3 separate regions of the Homo sapiens genome follow, and regions 1 and 3 are each linked to region 2. Evidence: promoter capture Hi-C in 16 types of primary human blood cells and fetal thymus (Javierre and others, 2016). All regions are on one chromosome and are shown on one strand. The core of a region is centred on a gene start or on the middle of the fragment in contact, and the rest is flanking DNA. Distances in the headings are between cores, read along the strand shown. Region 1 overlaps CBLB (Cbl proto-oncogene B). Region 2 holds the start of CD47 (CD47 molecule). Region 3 overlaps CBLB (Cbl proto-oncogene B).

Region 1 (2,776 bases), core at 107-2,606, 2.3 Mb before region 2:
TTTTGTCTTTTCTTAAAGGAGAAAATATTAAGATAGACGCCAAAATACTTGAAAGTTAAGATTATATGAAATACTAAACATTTTCTAAACTAACAAAATAAGTATCTTTTCAAATTTTAGTTCCACACATTTTTTTAGCATAAAATAGAAAAGAAATAAATATGCACTAATAAGTTTAAATAATTTCACTCTTGACCCTAGGGCAAAATACTATCTTTCCTTGAGTCATATATTTGTAAGAGAGATGATTATACATAAAATATAAACTGAAATAATTTTACAAATAAACTTTATTTTTCAAACACAACCTACTCGATTTTAACAAGAAACTGTAGGTCTAAGGAGCTCAGCCCTGAGTCCAGAAAGGTCAAAGGAAGTTTTATACAACGTTCTCTTGGGACATTTCATGACATCACCTACAAAGACAGTTCAAGAAGGTGAGAAAACATTTTAACCACAGTGGAACAGAAGCTTCTAGGGAACCTCTATACCACATTTCTAGACCAGAATATTTAACATATATAATTTGCCACAATTCTTTTTAAGTTACAGTCTTTCTTCTTCCTAAATACAAAAAAAAAAAAATTCATTAACAATCAATTTTGTTTTTTTAATCCCCTGTCCTCCCATGTAATGAATGCTGATGAGATCCTGAAATATTCCCCAAAGTAATGAAAAAAAATTAAAAATGCCCAGTTCATATAGCTCCTAAAATATGCCTCCTTTTAGGAAATACAAGTTACTTTTCTAATCTGGTTTTGTAGCTTATGAAAAAAATAAACATTCTTGAATACACAGGTAAAATAAACGTAACGAATACTGTTTGTCTTTCCATAAAGATGTTTTGTCACAGTAAAGGCAAGAAGATCAACTCTCACACACAAAACTGCAGCTATCAGCTGGGTGTGGTGACTCATGCCTGTGATCTTGACGCTTTGGGAGGCCAAGGCAGGAGAAATGCCTGAGCCCAGGAGTTCAAGACCAGCCTAGGCAACATGGCGAGACCCTGTCTCTACAAAAAATTTAAAAATCAGCCAGGCATAGTGGCATGTACCTGTAGTCCCACCTACTTGGGAGCCTACTTGGAGACTGAGGCAGGAGGATGGCTCAACCTAGTAAGTACAGGCTGCAGTGAGCTGTGTTCATGCCACCACACCATAGCCAGAGCGACACAGCAAGACCGTCCCAAAAAAAAAAAAAAAAAAAAAAAAAAAAAAAAAAACCAAACTGCAGCTATCTTCATAATAATGGAGGAAGATTTCTTCCAAAATCAAATTTTTCTATTTTTCTTCTACATTATTATACTTTTGAAACATTTCTTTATATTTCTAGTTAATTATCCTACTGCAAGAGAAATTCTTGCTATTGAAAGCCATGATAAGAAGTGTAAATCATCTATTACATATATTTGAAGTGGTATCTTCAAATAGTTTTAATTTAAGGGGATATCTCATTTCATATGTAATTAGTCAGCACATGTATAAACCCAAGGATCCCAACTGTCAGATGTATTTTATTTGCTTCCCTTTTCACTAGAATTCTTACTCTGGGGAATTCCAATGCCTTAGGTGTTATAAATGAGAACAAAGAAGAAGGAGTGATGCAGAGTTATCACACTTTCTACCTCCTCCCCTGCCCCTGCCCCAGTAATGCATTGCTGCCAACATCAAAACATCTTGGAAGGCTGTCCAGGGTATCGTTACCTTACAAATCCCCATGAACCATGATGAGAAAAGCCTACTATTAATAAATAAATAAAGCCACGTAATAGGTGTCCAAAATTGCCTAATAAGATTGCCCATTGTTTATATGACAGACATTTAGATCCTTGTACTCTGTACTTAATTTCCTACCAGAAGCAATATTTCCTATCAAAGACTTTTCCTTTGTTGTATGTAATAATTTCCCCTGACTCAGCACTATAAGGATCTGAATGTTTTTCTTCTGTTACAGGAAGCGTTGGTAACCCGGATACAGAATCAATCTTATAAAGCATCATATAACAAGAAAGATCAGTCAGACTTAGTCATGAAAGACAGGAGCCAGATTAAAAACTAGGTATTTTTTGTTGTTGTCTTAAAAGACCAATTTCTGTATCTAAAAGTTTGTTTCCAATAAATAAGTAAATAATTTACAGTCTAATATTAAGTTGTAAAGTTTAAAAACAGTAAAAATCTGTTTATATAATTTCAGAAACAGAGCCATTATCAAGTAAGAAAGTAAGACACATGCCATGTAATGGAAAGCTTATCTAAAGAGTAGCCTAATGTGAAGTACAATGTCTACTTCTCCTTCAATTAAAGCACAATGAACCAAAAACCACCAAATTTATGTCAAACTCTGTTCTCAAAAGTTGGTCAATTCATTCATTCAGATATTAACTGATTGCACATTGTCCATATAGCATGTAGTCTAGTGTAAATATAAAACATGGGAAGCACCAAAATTATAATTCAGTGACACCAAACTTCTAAGTGACTAGAACTTAGCTGAGGAGACACGGCTGACATGAAATATCCAAAATGCAAAACCTTGTCATTTAAATACGAAATTGCATGGTAACCAGAGTAACTTCCTTTCTTGTTTTATTTTTTCTGATATATACTTCCCCCAAACCAGACCATACACATAACCATGTTCATGGTTGAAAAATCAGAAGAGCAGAAGAGAAAAAGTGTAAAAATGAAAACACAATCCTTCAATTCCTCCACTCCTGAGATATCCAGCACCAAAGAACCACAATACAATATGCTTTCACATATTGTATTCTAAGCTA
Region 2 (2,767 bases), core at 172-2,671:
ATGACAGGAAACACTAACATCAACCATTTAGATAACGGAGACCTGGATTCACAGTCCCAACATCCAGGATGCTCGGGGAGGGAGGAAAGTGGTAAGCAGAGACTTAAGGGCATCTTGGAAATACCTAAAGTCACAAGCCTTTAGGAACGGCACACCGAGGCTAATAATCAGTTTAAAATCGAATTAATTTAGCATTCTAGAATAAATGTAACAATTGCTGTCACTGGTGCTCAAGCTGAATTCTGAATCTTATAAAAGTTCACAAAAGGCTCTATGGATGTGAAGTGTGACAGGCACTCACTGTAGAGCTACGAATGTTTCTATTCCTTGCTCAGTTTTTACAGACGAAGCACACGTTTTACAAAAGCGAAATGGATTCCAAAAGCTCGGGGTGGGGGTGGGGGGGTGGAGGTTCTTTGGCGTCGAAAAACACCAAATCCCATTCTGCTGCACATGTTTTGACTGGAGGTTACTGTCTTCCTATTTCAGGCGAAAACCAGATTACTTTTAAAACGGTTCCCCCAAATAAAGTGGGAAAAACTTCAACGTACAATTTAGAATGTATGCAAGTGGCTGATGGGGCGTGAGGGTCACGAGAAAGGAAGAGTTTCCAGCAAGCTTATTTTTAGGATTAAAAACGACAGCAAAAATTACACGGCCGGAAGATTCTTCTGATTGAATGCTGAGTTGAAAATGAAACTTAATTGTGTCCTTTACGTCCTCTTCGCTCCTATGTTCATGTGGGAGGCAAACGGCAGAAACCCCTTCTCACCGACTTCGCCAAAATGCGCACTTCCATCGCAAGAGGCCCGGGCCCTCCCACTCTCCCTCCCTCAACCCCAAATGCGTCTAAGCACTGAGAAGGGAGAGGGGTGCGAAAGAAGGGGATCCCTAGCAGCTGCAGCCCCTTGCCTCTGATCGCGCCCTTTCTTGCTAGTTAATTTTTGCGCGAGGTGCGCGGTTTGGAGTCTTCCTGTGTGTGTGCATTTGGAGATGGAGAACCGGGTGGAGGAGATGAGCCCCGCTCTCACCCAGGGGGAAGAAGACGACCAGGGAAAGGAAGGGAGGAAGAAGGGGGGCGCCCGATTCCCCGTGGGGCCCTCCCACGTCTGCACTTCGGGCGCTCAGGGCCCGAGTGTTCTGCGCCCCGGCCACCCTCTTCAGGGCGCCGCCGGGCTGGCTGGGGCGCAGCCCACACGCCCGCGGGGGCGAAGCGACAGCAGCCGCAGGGCTGGGAGCGAGGAGCCACTCACCGCAGCACGCCGAGCCCAGCAACAGCGCCGCTACCAGGGGCCACATCTCCGCGCCCGCCGCGGGGTCGCCGCCGCCGCCGCAGGTGTCCGGAGCAGCAGCCGCCGCCGCCGTTACAGGCAGGACCGACCGCCGCCGCGCGTCACAGGCAGGACCCACTGCCCAGGCTGCACGGCCGCGCGCACGCGCGCTCCCACTGCTTCCCGCCCGCTCCCCCGCCTGCTCCCCGCCCGCGAGAGCCGCGCACGCGCACTCGGCCCCGCCCCGCAACCGCTGCTGTTGACGCGGCGCCCTCCCCAGTCGCAGGCTCCAGACCCGGGGCCCGCCTGCCCGCTCCACGGAGGCCGGATGCCTGCTCCAGGGCGGTGGCACGCGCCGCGCTTCCAGGTCACGTCCTGTCGCACCCGCCCGCCCCTGGGGTCCGCGTGCTCGCCCGCCGCAGGAGGCTGAACCCTGTGTTCCCACGCTCGCCGGGGACCTCATTGCACCCGTTCCTGTCCGCGGGTCGGTTCCTGCCTTTCGCGCGGCGCTGGGCCCCACTGTCCTCTCTCTCTACTTTTCTCCTCTTTGCTTTCACTCCCACCCTCGCGCTTCAGGGGCCGGGTCCCGTCCCGCCCCAGCCCGCGTCTCTCCCTGGACCCGACGTCCGGCTGCGCGCGTGGACCAGGACACCTAGGCTTTCACCAGCGCCCGTTTCCTCCGGACGCGGCCGTCTAGCGCCGAAGCGGTCCCTGAGCCCGAGGCCGCCACGCCCAGGGCAGGGCGGTGGTCGGGTACCTGCCCGCAGGGAGCTTCCACTCGCCCCTCGCGGGCTCTGCGTTCGGCTCGTCTACTCGCTCTGCTCTTCCCTATGCGGTTCTCTTCCCTCTTTCTCACTTGGTTCTTTAGTGTTTTCATCCTCTGATCAGGGTTAATCAAACAAGTTCCATTCACGGTGGTAAACATTGTTACCTGTGAACACCGCCACCACCGGGACTAGCGAGCATTGTCGCAAACAGGCATTAGCAGCGTATCCAACACATCCCCACCAGCAAGGTTATTGAGCTTGGTTTGTGACTGCCCCATGTGCAGCCCTCTGCGCTGCGCTTGGGTTTAACATGCTTGAAAAATGGGTTCGAAATGTGGCCGCAAGCCACAATAGGGACAAGGCTTTTGAATTTATCGCTGAATCACACAGGCCACATCATTCATCCTGAAGCAAAAGTCTTTTAAAGATACTTTTAACCGTTATCCTAACTGATGTACTCTCTTATCAAAAAGTCAGGCTCTGGTGGCTGCTCTAATGGAGTGCACATCCTGTCCACCTCCTTGATTGTTTTCCTCCTACCTCCTGGGAAAGAAAGCAATTTCCCACCACAATACCCCACTTCTCCAAATCCTCTACACAGTGCGGCTCCTCCCAAGCATCCCATTGCCACAGAAATAAAATCCAGCGTATGAAAGTGGCACTGTCTATGACACTCTGTACCAGTGTATTGTATACTATCGAGCTTCTTCCTGTAATTGCTTTTTTGTG
Region 3 (3,098 bases), core at 114-2,613, 2.2 Mb before region 2:
GTGTACTGTTCTGAACCCCGAGGACAATAAAACAAAGAGGTGCAATTTGAATAACTGAGTTATTAAGTAGTAAATGTGTGTCAGGTCAGAACCAGTCTTTTCCACCTCCCCATACTGTCTACCACGCCTATAAACATGTGGCATATAACGGTTCAGTCATCCCATCACAGGTGCTGCCCAACCACTGGGGCGTTCAGGGGCTGCCTGCAGAACTGAAAGTACCTTCTGCCGGCCAGAGAAGGTAGTAATCCAACTAATGTATTCACTTCTACATGTTCATGTGATTTAGCCAAGAGTAAGTTAGTCCACCACATTCTTATCCCTCCAGAAAGGGCATAATCAACTCTTTACATAAATAACTTTCAAATGAAATAATTGAGAATTGCACAGTAGCATTATATAGTGTAATGGGACAGCACTCTTACAAAAGGTTAAATGTTCACATAAAGATCATAAAGATACATGGCTCTCTTCTAAGGCCCTCGTTGTATTTTTTTTTTTTGTCAAATTGTCAAGAGTATATCTTATTTTATTTTATTGTTTTTTTAAGACGGAGTCTCATTCTGTCACCCAGGCTGGAGTGTAGTGACACGATCTCAGCTCACTGCAACCTCTGCCTCCCGGGTTCAAGTGATTCTCCTGCCTCAGCCTCCCAAGTAGCTGGGATTACAGGTGCCTGCCACCGCACCTGGCTAATTTTTATATTTTTAGTAGAGACGGGATTTCACCATCTTTGTCAGGCTGGTCTCGAACTCCTGACCTTGTGATCCACCCGCCTCGGCCTCCCAAAGTGCTGGGATTACAGGTGTGCGCCACCGTACCCGGCCTAAGAGTATAATATCTTAAACATAATTGGCTAAAGCCTCCTGTTGGGTGGCACTGGAGTGGCTGTGGGTATTTTTGGAATCTGGCTAATGGAAATTTGAATTGAAGACACATTTACTTTGGGTTTAATGGAAGGTATATGTGAGGCATACAGTCACTCCTGTAAAATGGTTTAATTACTGTCAGCAATCCCAATGAAACTGAAATAAGGCAGGCAAAGAAAGAATATACTATTAATATATGATCTCATTTTCACATGCAAAATCTTAAAAGAAGGAGTTAAGCAACAAAGAAACAGAGAGTAGAACAGTGGGTGGGCCCCAGGGATGGGGAGGGGAAGAAATGGAGAGAAGAAGGTCAAAGAGTACAAATTTGAAGTTATGTAGGATAATTAATACTGGAGATCTAATGTACAGCATGAGGCCTATAGCTAATAATACTGTATTCTGAAAATTTGCTAAGAGAACAGAGTTTAAATGGTCTTACCACAGAAAGGTAATTATGGAAGGTGAAGGATATGTTAATTTATTTGATGTAGTAACCATTTCACTATGTGTATATATATCAAAGCATCATGTTATACACCTTAAATAAATACAATATTTTTTAAATCTGTAATAGAACTTTTTTTAAAAGATGGTTTTAGAAATACCTGAGGTGCCCACAATGCTGACTAGCCTACCATGGGAACAGTGAAATCCAATTCAAATCTGGCAATTTGAATGTGTTTCATGACACCCAAAACTGGAAGTATATGCGGTAACGGAAGATAATCAAAGTATAAAATGTACAGAGCCAAAAACTAGTCTAGATTATTTCTCTAATCACTTGTAGATATACCGGCTTTTTAAAAACTATAGTGCTTTGTGGATTTTTCTCATTCTAAAAAAAATTCACTTTCATAAACAATTTGATGTTTGTACTTTCGTATTCTTTATATTTAGAAAGATTCTTTCAAATCATATAAGTTTCAGGGGACATAAAACATGGATCTGCCTCTGGGCACCCATAAAAGTGCCTGGGACAAATAAACAATCGAACTATAATAACTTCAAGCATAACGAACACAATAAATCAAGGAACTAACAAATTTAAAGGGTACTCTTATACACACTATCACACTTACTTTCTTAAAGAAATTGGCCAGGCGCAGTGGCTCACACCTGTAACCCCAGCACTTTGGGAGGCCGAGACAGGCAGATCATGAGGTCAGGAGTTCGAGACCAGCCTGGCCAACATGGTGAAACCCTGTCTCTACTAAAAATACAAAAAGTAGCTGGGTGTGGTGGCAGGTGCCTGTAATCCCAGCTACTAAGGAGGCTGAGGCAGGAGAATCACTTGAACCCGGGAGGCAGAGGTTGCAGTGAGCTGAGATCACATCACTGCACTCAGCCTGGACAAGAAAGCAAGACTCCATCTCAAAAAAAAAAAAAAAAAAAAGAAAAGGAAAAAAAAAAGAAATCACTGGGGATCAGGGTTTTTTTCAGAGGGAGTAGATGGAGAGAAAAATCTGGTTCAAATTTCCAACCATCAGCCTCTAATTTAAGATGTTTTTCACATTAACCCAGGGCATGATCTTATATTCTTCCTCTTTGTAAACAATGCCTTAAAGCAGAATTGCTGAGTACATAACCAACAAATTAATGGATTGGTTGACTGCTATTTTTTTTTCACAAATAGTTTGATTGTATTATTTCCTTTATTTTTACAATTGAACTCTAAAGTATCAAGTATTCAAATTAATAATCCAAAGGTATAGGCTTAGTTAAAAAGTAATAATAGTATTTTTATCTCCAAGAAAGTCCTTGGAAAGGTAAGATGTCATCTCATTTACTAAATAACAGCAAATCTTTACAAAGTATAGTGAAAATGGCTGACAGAGCTTTTTTTACCCCCTTTTTAATACGTGATACGTTAGTATAATCAGAGTTCATTCTGCCCTAAAGATTAAGTCCCAAATATGCCAATTATTTAACAAATCCTGCTTGAAAAAGAATATGGTTTTTAAATTATTTAAACCAAAAATACTATCACAAGTATACATAAATACCAAGAATATTGCCACCAACATTCTACAGCAGGCATAGTTTAATGTCAGCAACATAAAACTTGGTGTAACATGTCACAGACTGATACATTATTTTCTTCTAGTTTGGGGACCAGGTAGCTTCAAATTCATTTCCTCTACTAGAGAACTTTTTAACTGATACATACAAAATTTCTGTCAGGTATTTTTTTTCCAGACATTCCACATAAATATTCTTTGACAGAAA

The links. Contacts are between HindIII fragments. The CHiCAGO score rates a contact against its expected background, and 5 or more counts as called.
Region 1: a fragment that was not itself captured here is called in contact with the fragment with the promoter of CD47 in region 2 in 1 of 17 cell types (M0 macrophages); the score reaches 6.0 in M0 macrophages.
Region 3: a contact is called between a fragment that was not itself captured here and the fragment with the promoter of CD47 in region 2, in 1 of 17 cell types (neutrophils). The highest score is 6.1, in neutrophils.

What each region holds. Positions count from the first base shown.
Region 1 is chr3:105,828,480-105,831,255 of GRCh38, forward strand. The region is part of intron 3 of CBLB (Cbl proto-oncogene B); the gene reads right to left. Among named protein-coding and RNA genes, the nearest start is that of CBLB, 39 kb to the right of the region's middle. RefSeq lists a silencer at 475-524. The HindIII fragment of the contact is 1,775 bases long and covers 470-2,244 here.
Region 2 is chr3:108,089,610-108,092,376 of GRCh38, forward strand. It overlaps CD47 (CD47 molecule), which reads right to left and starts at 1,422. Exons shown (of 11, transcript NM_001777.4): 1 at 1,254-1,422. The coding sequence starts at 1,299. RefSeq lists silencers at 1,146-1,895, 1,916-1,965, 1,976-2,035. The HindIII fragment of the contact is 8,318 bases long and covers 617-2,767 here.
Region 3 is chr3:105,854,104-105,857,201 of GRCh38, forward strand. All of the region lies in intron 2 of CBLB (Cbl proto-oncogene B), which reads right to left. Among named protein-coding and RNA genes, the nearest start is that of CBLB, 13 kb to the right of the region's middle. The HindIII fragment of the contact is 6,069 bases long and covers 1-3,098 here.